Linked DNA regions of Homo sapiens: region 1 is linked to region 2. Evidence: promoter capture Hi-C in 16 types of primary human blood cells and fetal thymus (Javierre and others, 2016). All regions are on one chromosome and are shown on one strand. Each heading gives the region's core, a stretch centred on a gene start or on the middle of the fragment in contact. The rest is flanking DNA. Distances are from core to core; before and after follow the strand shown. Region 1 overlaps COG6 (component of oligomeric golgi complex 6). Region 2 holds the start of WBP4 (WW domain binding protein 4).

Region 1 (4,467 bases), core at 387-2,886, 1.4 Mb before region 2:
ACTTGAATTTGTTTCATGGGGTATCAGCTTATTTGAATTTTACATACTATAGAATACAATATGGAAAGAGAAACCAAAGTGTCTCTGTATCTAGACTACCTCTTACTTATATAGAGGTTCAGTGACTTTTCCCCTGTCGTCTCATTAACTCCCTTAGAATTGTAAGTAACTAAAACTCCTGTATGAATACTTCCCTACAGAGACTGAAGTCATATCAGTACTGAGAAATATGGTTATGCAGAGATGAAAAAAGAATATTTAATATCAAGGTAATCTGTTAATAGGATTTAGGAGGAGAGGGCCCAGGTCTTTGATCCTGTAATTGATGCCAAACAAGAGCTATGTGGTAATGTTTTGGATAAGAATTTAATGCATTTTGTATTTGTTGATATGTTTTTTATTATTTTATATTTTAATTTTATTCTTTTAATTTTTATAAAATAAAAGGTAAATACTTTCTTTAATGCCTGGAGTAGTATTAGCATAAGCTTTAGGTAGATGTAGGGGTTGATGATATTAATAATTCTGAAAACAGGAAACGAGGGGACTCTTACCAAGGTAGTGCATCCTGCTTTGAATCATCCCTTTCAGAATCTGTTTATACTATTTTTAGAGGACCTCCCCATTACTTTCTGATTGGAACACTACTTATCCTATCATCAGGTCACAGAACACAAATGCTGAACAGCTGTGTAAAATAATAACACCCCAGTGTTACTTACTGAGTACTATGTGTTAAGCACCATTTTAAATTCTAGAAACACAACGTCAGTAAAGCACTGCCCTCAAACTGCTTTATTTTATGGAACCAGAGATAAACAAACGCATTTTAATTGAATACACTAATTGATAGTCTAGAAGTCATGTGCCAGATGCTGTGTGGCTCAAGTATTCTGGTGTAGGGGAAAGAGATGAGCATCAGTGAAAGTTTCCTAAGGAATTAGGTATAAAGTGAGTTCTGAAGGCTGAATAGGCATTTTCCTAGAAGTAAAGGAAGAACAGTTTGCAGGTTGAGGGAACAGTAATGCAAAGATATACATTGAGAGATAATGCACCTTTGGGAAATTAATTGTAAAAGCTTGCACTGGCTATTGAATTAGGAGCAACAGCTGGATCATAATAGCCCTGAATGTTGTGCATATACATAAGATAAGTTAATGTTTACCATTGATCAGCAGCTTAACAGTTTATTCCTGCTTTAAAATTTCTTTCCCAACTTTTTCACTTTAACATATTGACATTAATTATGAGTCTTTTAGCACTTAAAACATTTGGCGTTTGATTTTAACAGCTGTTGCATTGTCTACAGATTAATATTTATTCACAAGGTTAATCTTTTATGTATTAAAAAAAAAAAGCCTTTCTGTGTTTTGGGCACCTTTGTTTGTTTTCAACAGCTGACTTCTGCCATGCAAATAAATTTTCACTGAGTTATAGTTCTTTATCAAAACTTGGAAAGGAGCAATATTAAATGGCTATAAGGTGGGTTCTTGAGTCAAATTTCTTTGAGAAGTCCGTGTACCTTTATAAGCTTGTTTCCTTAGCTGTAAAATGAGGATAATAATAGTGCCTATTTTACAGGGTTGATGTGAAGATTAAGTTAGATTGTTCACTTAAGGCACTTAGTGTAATGCTTGGTACATCACTAAATTTTAGATATTATTTTTATTTTGAGAGGAGATGACTAGAAAGTTTTCAACTAAGGAGGGATGTATCTGAGGGCTACATGGCAATCTGGGAAAAAGCTTGAAAGATAAAGAATGGAACTATAATAGGCAAAGAAGGTTTATCTGTGAAGGGCATATGCTAAGAAGCAGGGGGCAGTAATGGCAATTTGGAAGATTTTTTTTTTTTTTTTTTTTTTTTTGAGACGGAGTCTAGCTGTCGCCCAGGCTGGAGTGCAGTGACGCAATCTCGGCTCACTGCAGGCTCCGCCCCCTGGGGTTCACGCCATTCTCCTGCCTCAGCCTCCCGAGTAGCTGGGACTACAGGCGCCCGCCACCTCGCCCGGCTAATTTTTTGTATTTTTTAGTAGAGACGGGGTTTCACCGTGTTAGCCAGGATGGTCTCGATCTCCTGACCTCGTGATCCACCCGCCTCGGCCTCCCAAAGTGCTGGGATTACAGGCGTGAGCCACCGCGCCTGGCCAATTTGGAAGATTTTAAGACACATTTAGAAGTTGAGTAGGAAAGTAAGTTTTTAAGACCAGATGATTAGAACAAGATGAATGCTAAAAAAGAGAAAATTGGCCTTTCATTAAGTAATTATTTTCAAAGTGGTAGTTTCCTTACATTTAGGGAAAACTTAATAATGTATCATGTTAACCACCAGATGGCACTATATGAACTTAATAAGTAATGTATAAAAGTTTCACTGTCCATTATTGTGTCTCAAATAATGTAAGTATTATATACAAGAAAAATGTCAATTATTGAAATCCGTGGGGAAAGTTGCCATACTCAGTGTTTCTTATGTGGTGTATAACTGGAATGCTAATGCATTATTGACTTTTAATAATAAATCATGTACAATTATAAATGAAGTGAAAAAATTTGATAATTTATTTTCTTTGGTAAGCCTTTAGAATATAAGTTATTTTAAAATGTAGTAATACATACAATGCTGATTTTTCTTCCTTCTTTATGTATTTGTTGTGTTTCAAAGAGGCACTTCTTTACTATTATCTTTTAATTTGCTTTTTGATAAAAATTTTTCTTCTTTTAATTTGCTTTTTGACCAGAATTTCTTTAACTGTAGCTAAACACAATTTTTAAAATGAGACTTTTAATTTTAACTTGAGGTATTTGAGAATATTTACATAATTTGAACATTCACTCTGAAAAAGCTCCATTTTGATTTTTGATTATTGTTGGAAGAATGTCTGATTTTGGTCAAAGACTTTTTCTTCTGTCTCTGGGAAGGATGTTTCATGTCTAAAGATATTGAAGGTTCACGTGGCTTATGCTGTTTTTGCTTTAAATTATATTTGTTCTATAGGAGGATTGACATTAATATTAATGTTTATTGATATTTTATAGTATTGAACAGATGAAATTCCAGTGTTTGCCAGGCTTGGTAATTTACCCCCTATTTAAAATACACTGGATTTTAAGATTCACTGGATTCTGTTACAGCTGTCGTCCCAGTGGACAGTCCTAGAAACAAATTATGCTGTTTATTTTTAATATAGTTAGTAGGGTCTTGGGAATGAGGATTAGCTATATATACTTAAAAAGTTAAACGTTTGTGAATTTTATGCTGTGATAAGCAGTCATAAGTTCATTATTTCAGAGAATCAGGTGATCATTTAAAAGAAGGCATTCTTCACACTAAATGGATTAATAATTTAAGAGCATGAGGGAAAAAATAGCAATGAGCATTTTGGTTCTAATTTGTTTAAAAAATAGTAAATGCAAGGCAATTATGCAATTTAGCAAAACTTAGCTGGATATTGCACTTCCCCTTTTCTGTAGTATGTCACCACAGGGAATCTCAAAACCATTTCTTTTTAATGGAAGACAAACCCACAAAGAACCATAGTCTGGTTAATAGTAAACAGTCCTCAAAAAAGGTTCATATTCCTAAATATTTATAGCTATTTGCCAGTTCTACAGACTTTCTCTTTGATTTGGAAATAAACCGTCTTTCACATGTTTACCAAAATGTGGATTTTTCATCCAATTAACAGCATATGAAAGAAAGCTATGTAGCCTAAGATATTAATTATTTTGGGTATCTTGGGAAGTTTTGGTAATTTTTGTTTATATATAGGTTATTGACATAATTCTTAAAATTTAGTATGGTAGAATACTGTTTAGAGATTTAAAAGTTAGTCTAGAATCTGCTGACATCAAGACTGCTAAAATATATTTTGTTTTTCTTTATACTTTTAAAATGGAAAGAACTTTCAATTGAGGGATGGATGTCAGGAATGGTGGTGATAATGGAAAACAAGGCTGAGTCAAGTCAAAGAAATGGGCACTCCAGAGAGCTCCAGGCCATTTTTATAAATTGAATCCCAAATTGTCCTATTCCCCAGTTAAAAGCTTTCCTTCCCTACCAGTTCCTTCACCTTAGAAAGCCTTTCCATGCCTTTTCAATTATAATAGGTGACTTCTTAATACATGTTTTTTAAAAAGGTATTTGCTTGTATATGTGTTTGGTCAGTAAATTTAAGGAACATCTGTTATGTCTAATATTGGAGTCAAAATAAGCTTTTAAAGATGGATAGCAATTTTTGGAGCAAATTTTGGTGATAGATTGTGATAGTATGTGTAAAGAAGACTTTTTTAATGTAGAAGAGAAAAATGTCAATTTTGGGATTGCAGAATTCTTTTATTTTTTCTGAGACAGGGTCTTGCTCTGTGGCTCAGGCTGGAGTATAGTGGAGCAGTCACTGCTAACTGCAGCCTGAACCTCACGGGCTCAAGTGATCCCCCTACCTCAGCCTTCCGAGTAGCTGGGACT
Region 2 (7,618 bases), core at 4,188-6,687:
TGCATTTATAGAGTTATAGAACTATCACTGTAATCTATTTCAGGACTTTCAATCACCCTAAATTTACTATCCACATTGGCAGTCACCTCACCCCAAACCTCCCTATCCCCTCTAATCCAAGGCAACCACTAATTTTCCCTCTTTCTCTATAGATTTGCCTATTTTGGATATTTCATATAAATGGAATAAAAATGTGGTCTTTCATGCCTGACTCCTTAGTGTAATGTTCTTGTGATTGAGTACCTCATCCCTTTTTATTCCCAAATATTCCACTGTGTGGATACACTACATTTTACCTATTCACTCATCAGTTGAGGGACATTCAGGTTGTTTCTACTTTTTGCTTATGAATAATGCTGCTATAAACATTTGTATACAAGGTTTGGTGTGGGCATGTTTTCATTTCTACTGGGTACACACCTAGGAGTGGAAATACTGGATCATATGGTAACTGTTTAACATTTTGAGGAACTGCCAAACTGTTTTCCAAAGCAACTGCACCATTATACATTTCCAGCAGCACTGTATAAGGGTTCCAACTTCTTTACTATTGTTTGAATCTTTACTACATACAGAACAAGAACGATCTCATATGATATCCTTGCCTTCAGGGAACTTATATTGACAGACTAAGACAAGAAATAAACAGAAACAAATAAACAGGTTAATTTCAGATACTAAGAAAATGAAAAAAATGTCATAAAGTAACCAGAAAGTAACCAAGGAAGAGGAAGTCTCAAGCTAAAGTGGTCAGAAAAGATCTGAGAAGGTAATGTTGACCTGAGATGTGCAGAGCTACAGGGGGAATATTCCAGGCAAAGGAAAAAGGCAAGAAACAAAACTCCGAGACAAGGATAAGTTTGGCATGGCAAAAAGGAAGCCTACGTAGCCAAGATACAGTGAAGTGGTAGATAAGGTAGGACCTGAGGTTAGATGGGTAAAGTCCAGATAATGTTGGACCTATGAGACCATGATAAGGTCTTCGGATTTTAGCTGAAATGCAGTAATTGCTTTAAAATCCCTTCTACTTCTTTAAATACCAGCGTTCATCTCTGCAAACATTTACTGAACTTTCACGTCTTTTTTTTTTTTTTTTTTAAGAGATAAGGTCTTAGGGTCTTGCTCTGTCACCTGGAGTGTAGCGGCAACATCACAGCTCACTGCAGCCTTGAACTCCTGGGCTCAATGGATCCTCCCACCTTAGGCTTGCAAGTAGCTAGGACTACAGGCATGTGGCATCACACCTGGCTAATTTTTTTTTAATTTTATTTTTGTAGAGACAGGCTCTTGTTATGTTGTCCAGGCTCTCTCACTTTTTCTCTTTTTTTTCCCCCCACCCCGAGATGGAGTCTCTCTCTGTCTCCAAGGCTGGAGTGCAGTGGCACGATCCTGAGATCCTGGCTTACTGCAATCTCTGCCTCCAGGGCTCAAGTGATCCTCCCACCTTGGCCTCCTGAATAGCTGATACAGGTGCAGCGGGTGCCACCACGCCTGGCTAATTTTTTGTATTTTTGGTAGAGATGGGATTTCGCCATGTTGATCCACCTGCCTCAGCCTCCCAAAGTGCTAGGATTACAAGCATAAGCCACCACACCCTGCCTCTTTCATGTATCTTCTAATTACACCTAACAGTAGCAAATATTAAAGAGGTTATTTGGGTAAATCCACAGCACTCAGTGTCACTAATTTATGGCCCAAGAGACAGCACCTAAAATATGCCTGCCAATGGCACAAGCGTTAAGAATGAATCCTCACAAACTGATTACCTAGCCTTAATCAATTTAAGATATACGTCTTACTGACAGTAGTGAGCAGCTCTGTCTTCGAATACCAAGGTCACTTTCAACAAAGCAAGACAGATTATTCTCACACTTTAAGCCTAGATTTCATTCCTATAAAGTGAATTCTAATTAACTGATTGCTTTTCTCCATTCTATTAATTACAAATTAATATTCAACTCCTAAACATAAAATGTACGGACACAAAATATTCTACATGTTTCTTTATTGTTTGAATCTTTTAAAACAAGAATTTTTCACATGCCACTGCTACCTTTGGGTTTTCCAAGAGACAGAAATGGTTTAAAAATTTTTGTGACATAAAATGTCACTCCTTGATAAAAGAACCTGTTACCTAGTCAAAATTTATCAAGTTAAAATTCCTTTCTACATTCCCAGCTTGATCTCCCATGGCCCTCCCTGCAGGCACTCTGTGCTCCTGCCAAACCGACTACTTGCCAGCCTCATACTTGTTCCCCCTACCTCAGCTTTATGATTCACATTCCCCAACAGGAGAAATCCAATCAGTTCTTCAAGGTCCACTCTCCCCTCTAGGTCTCTTCTCCAGTCCTCTCCCTTGAGCAGAACCGATTCCTCACCTCTGTTACTCCAGTAGCACTTCTACAACTCAGATGTTGCCTTACCATATTCTACGTAATGCACAACTACACGAAAGATAAATCTGTGTTTTATACAGAGATGATGCAACTACTTCCTTTGTGTTCACCCCCAGGTATATAGTACAACTATTTGCAATTACTGAGTGCACAGTTGAAAATAACATCCATTTTAGCACCATTTGGTACAATGTTGTAAACTCATTACAAAATACAAGGTCAAGGCCTGGCGTGGTGGCTCATGCCTGTAATCCTAGCACTTTGGGAGGCCGAGGTGGGTGGATCACCTGAGGTCAGGGGTTCGAGACCAGCCTGGCCAACATGGTGAAACATTGTCTTTACTCAAAATACAAAAATTGGCCACGCGTGGTGGCGGGTGTCTGTAGTCCCAGCTACTTGGGAGGCTGAGGCACGAGAATAGCTTGAATCCGGGAGGCGGAGGTTGCAGTGAGCTGAGATCGCGCCAATGCCCTCCAGCCTGGGTTAACAGAGCGAGACTCCGTCTCAACAAAAAAAAGAAGAAAAAGTCAAAAGTTAAGCCCTCTCTGGGGACAATTAAGGCAGAGTTATCCGAGTTATCTTTCCTTCTTTCCAAATTTTCAACTACTGTAATTCTTTAGTAACTGCTTCTTAATAATGACACACTATTACTTATTTAAATGAAAATTCCACTTTCATTATCTATTCAGGAATCGCTCAACAATTCTTGTAACTCTATTTAAAATTTGTGAGTGATACGTGTTATCAAAAATGTATGGCTCTAAAGCCAGAGAACAGAGAAGGTGAAAAGTCTCATCACACAGCTAATCACAAAGACCAAAATATTATTCCATTCAGTATTCTATCCACTAGCTAACATAAAGAATACAAACATCAGTAACTTCAAAAGCATGTGGTGGTGCTTGGTGTGTAGCAAACACACAAATATTTGAATTAATGAAGACGATTTAAAATACTTAGGCTTTTTCTTTCTTTTTAACAAGGTAAGCCTAATTAATCCTTAATCACGCAGATCACATTAACAAATTTACTGTGCAGTTAAAGCTACAAAATAGTCTGGGAACACACATACTAACAACCAAAACATCTGCTTTCAGTAATGGCACTGACCAGAAACCCATCTACAAGAGTCACTTTTTCCTTCTTCGTTTGTTCCCAGAGGCCCAATAAACATTATAGCCGACCCTATTTTCTAATTTCAGCTTGCATTTAAGATAACGCTTTTGTTTCATTTACAGCTCACATGCTGCTGACACAGCTGTCCCTTCTTTGTAATAAACACAGGGCTTCTATATTTAAAAATACAGTGAAACTTTGTTTTAACGTCCCCTCCCCAGTCTCCAGCCAATTTTCTCTTTCCCAAGCCCCACCTCCACCCCAGGATGTTTTGCCGTTGTTTTAATCAATTTTTTTCTTTAAATCAACCGCGCTCAAAATGTTAGACCCTTTGGAAAGTCGATATACTTATTTAAAGCCATCTCATCAGAGTGGTATTTTTCTCCTCCATAGCTCGTGGTGTGTATTTTTAAAGGGAAAGAAAAAAGATTCTCGTTCCCAAAGGCCTTTTTTCGAGGGTACTTTCCGTGACTGCGACCAGCGCCCCTTAAGTCAAGTTGGGAAGACCTCGCAGGCCGGCCTCGCGCTTGCTCAGGCGCCGCGGGTGGAGACGCGAGCGCACACGCGGCGGAAAGGGGCGCCGGGCGGCTGCGCGGCCGGGAAAGCGCGTCCCCCCGGGAGGGCGCGGAAGGCACACTGTGTTCCGTGGGGCCTCGTAAATACCCTGCGGCCAGAGAACCACTAGAGCTACTGGTCCGGGCGCGGGCTCTGGGGCGCCCAGGGCAGGGGGGTCAGCCCGTCCTGCATAGGAAGAGTCGCAAGAGCGGCTGAAGAGGGTGTGGGCCGGACGGGGGCGCTGGGAGGAGATAACGCAAGGCCGGAGTTAATCATCACCTCCCGGGCGTCTGGAAAACTACGGGCCGGAGGGGCGGGGGAGCAGCCCAGGGGAAAGTGAAACTCCCTCAGGGCCCACCAGCCCCGTGAGCCGGAGGCGGGAGGGAGAAGGATCGGAAGCGCATTCGCTTCTCCAGCAGGCACGGCGTGGCACTCGAGGCTCCAAAAGCCGCAGCCCAGCTCCTGGCGCCACTAACTACAGTAATGCTTATTTTCTACAAACTCACCCAGACGGGGACAAGAAAGGAGCCAGAACACAAGATTTAAAAAGTCAGCCCTCCAAACCGATAGTTGCAAAAAAAAAGAAAAATAAGGAAGCGTTCCCATACCGGGAGTCGAACCCGGGCCACCTGGGTGAAAACCAGGAATCCTAACCGCTAGACCATATGGGAAGTGCTATGAGAAACTGCCGTGACCCACCTGACAAGCATAAGTGCCTCTGCCTCCTTCGCCGCACCTCTCGCCACCGCCGCCTCTGCGCTACTGAAGCTGCTGCTGCCGCCGCCGCCGCCGCCGCCGCCGCCGCCGCTGCTGCTGCCCACACGCTCCCGAGCTAGGGAACAAGCCCCATCCGAGCGCGTGGGCGTCGTAGGGGAGAGGAGGGGCGGGGCCGCTCCGCTGCAACAGCAAAGTTTGAGGCGAAGCCTAGCGACTCGCAGCGCCGGTCCCGCAGTTTCACCTCTTTTTTTTTTAACTCCGCCAGAGGACCCCGACCCACAGGTCCCGGTTGCTCCGCTGGTCAAAGTGCGTGCGGAGTAGTTGGCAAAGTTGAGAGCGGAGACGTCTCTGGGAACAGCTGTTTGCGTTCCGGGCGGAGGCGGCGCGCTGAGCTCCTTGGCCTTGAGCCAGCGAGCCTAGAAGGAGGATGGAGGTTTTGGGCCCCAGGGGAGGACACAGAGACGGCGGGATGGCGCAGGGACTTGAGGCTTGAGATCCCGTCCTTCAGCTCAGGTCCCGTCGCGCTTTTACCCCTTCCCGGTGACCTCAACCCCTTTATACCGACCCCACCTCTTTGGAGCCGGGAGTACCGCCCCTGTAGGGGGAGGGGAGAGGAGGCGATTTCGAACGCGGATTGGATCGTCTGGGCACCCGTAGTTGGGAACAGCGGAACGCTGGTCCCGGGGACTGAGTAAGGTGTCTGGATCGGAGGGAGGTTCGGGTGGGCATCGGGCGGCTGGAAGAGCTCGACTCGTCCCGCTGGGAAAGCGCGAGTCTGAGTGGAACCCTGGACGACTTGCAGAGCGGCTGGCGCAGTCATGTGAGTTGGGTCTCAGGCCCTGAACAACGAGGTGTTGTTTCTCTGGGCCGCCCTTTCTCGCCCGGGTCTTCCCCTCCTCTCCTCCCGCCCTTCGGCCGGGGGCGTGACAGACGCGTTCTTAACTCGCTCGGGACCGGCCCCAGACCTGCAGGGCCGGTTCTCAGGGCGGGGTAGAAATGTTACCCCGCTGAACGCCCTGGGGTATGGGGCACGGGCTCTAGGGGGAGGCCGGCGGCCGGTTCAGGGGGCTGGTTGGACGGCCGCGGGTGAAGCGACGCAGTGCTCTCTCTACGACGCTGTCGGGGGTCGCATGCACCCCTTGGGTTTCCGAAGCCCCTGAACCCTAGGGTATTGTGAAACTAGGGCTGGGCTGCGGCCTCCCCCGCCCACTGGAAGCGGCCAGCCCTGGATAGCGTAATGGTTTTTTTTTTTTTTTTTTTTTTTTTTTTGTCGGCCGTCTACGAAGTCCCATGGCTTTTCCAGTTCTCTCTTGCCTTGAGGCTCAAGAACAGTTTGTTTTAACTGAGAGTCTGGGAGGAACTACAGTTTTCCCCAGAGTAGTCTTGTACGTTGTTCTCTTGGTGGGAATAACTTGATTTAAGGCAAACTTTATGAGTTTCTTCAGGTTTCCATTACAGCAACCTCCCCCAAAGCCAGAAAGGATAAATGTTCTTCTAAGATGTTCCTTAGTTTTTCATAACGATGACGATAACAAGTGAGGAATTTTTGAAAGCCATTTTATTGAAGGGAGTTTTGTAATGAATCAGATACAGACTTTTTCTACTCCGCTGGCAACAGAATTTCAATTGACTGTGCTCCAACCAGATAAATAATAAAACGACTATACATAACAAGACAAGATTCAGTAGCAGGGGCATATATTTCAAACTTTAAAAACTGTAAAGCATGCAGAATTTAACCTTTTTTAAGTTTTACATGAGCTTAGCCTTGTTGTCTCTCTTTTTCAGGGCGGACTACTGGAAGTCACAGCCAAAGAAATTCTGTGATTACTGCAAGTGCTGGATAGCAGACAATAGGCCTGTATGATAATTCCGCTGTTAGAGATTCTAATAATAATTGTGTTGAATGAAGTGCTCCTTTTTGATGTAAACTCAGTTTACAAAGCACTTTTATGTACATTGCTCTTGCATTTTCAAAACATCAGAAGATTTCTGTCTTCTCAGTCCCCTATGAAAGCTGTGAGCCTTCTTCCTTTTCATCAACCTGACTTTGATTATATATTAAATTATTTCTCTGTGGCCTTTTGGGAAATGGGCAATGAGTTGGTCATATCATTCATGTTATGAAGCACCTATATTATAATGGTGGTGTTCATAATACTGTCATACCCAAAGAATTGTGGAAAGCCCTTAAAAAATAAAAGCAACATGTTTAGTTTTTCTTGTATATTTTGTGGTCTAGAAATAATCAAGTGTATTTAATGCAGAGCTGTGTATCTTTAGATGCTTAAATTTGAAAGAACACCATTATTTCCTTTCTCATGAAACAAAGTAACAACTCTGTTAGGTATGTTGTTAGTCTGTCTCATAGTTGAGATCCAGTTTTGAAGATGTAAAGCAAAAAGCACACCGCTGATTTTTCTCCCCTCTTGCATGTCAAAATACTATGTACATACCACATAAACACTAGGGTATCTGTTAAATATATTTTATGTTGATACCGTTTTTACTTGGCAAAGTTGGATGCACAAAGAATAGTAGTCTCATATTTTAACAATGCTGTGGATTTCTTCTGTAGACATTTATTTCCTGTTACCTGCAAGGTGTTTAGGATTTGGATTTTTTTTTGATGTTTTGGTCTTTTTGGATAGTTGCTAAAGTTCTTCACTATTTTACCTAGGCTATCCTTATAAATAAATACCATGAATTTTTAAAACCACACAGGTCACTTAAAGTCTCTCTTTCTTGGAGGTACCTAGGCTGTAAAATGAATTTTGTGAGTTATCTAGAGTAAGTAATCCCTTCCAGTGTAGTCTGTCTTTATCTTCTTGAGT

Evidence for each region. Contacts are between HindIII fragments. The CHiCAGO score rates a contact against its expected background, and 5 or more counts as called.
Region 1: a fragment that was not itself captured here is called in contact with the fragment with the promoter of WBP4 in region 2 in 1 of 17 cell types (total B cells); the score reaches 5.2 in total B cells.

Annotation. Positions count from the first base shown.
Region 1 is chr13:39,682,402-39,686,868 of GRCh38, forward strand. The region is part of intron 8 of COG6 (component of oligomeric golgi complex 6); the gene reads left to right. Among named protein-coding and RNA genes, the nearest start is that of MIR4305, 20 kb to the left of the region's middle. The HindIII fragment of the contact is 214 bases long and covers 1,530-1,743 here.
Region 2 is chr13:41,056,072-41,063,689 of GRCh38, forward strand. It overlaps WBP4 (WW domain binding protein 4), which reads left to right and starts at 5,438. Exons shown (of 10, transcript NM_007187.5): 1 at 5,438-5,604; 2 at 6,573-6,645. The coding sequence starts at 5,603. It overlaps TRE-TTC1-2 (tRNA-Glu (anticodon TTC) 1-2), which reads right to left and starts at 4,738; the gene lies at 4,667-4,738. It also overlaps a transcript of ELF1 not described here. RefSeq lists a silencer at 4,053-4,232. The HindIII fragment of the contact is 8,920 bases long and covers 1-7,618 here.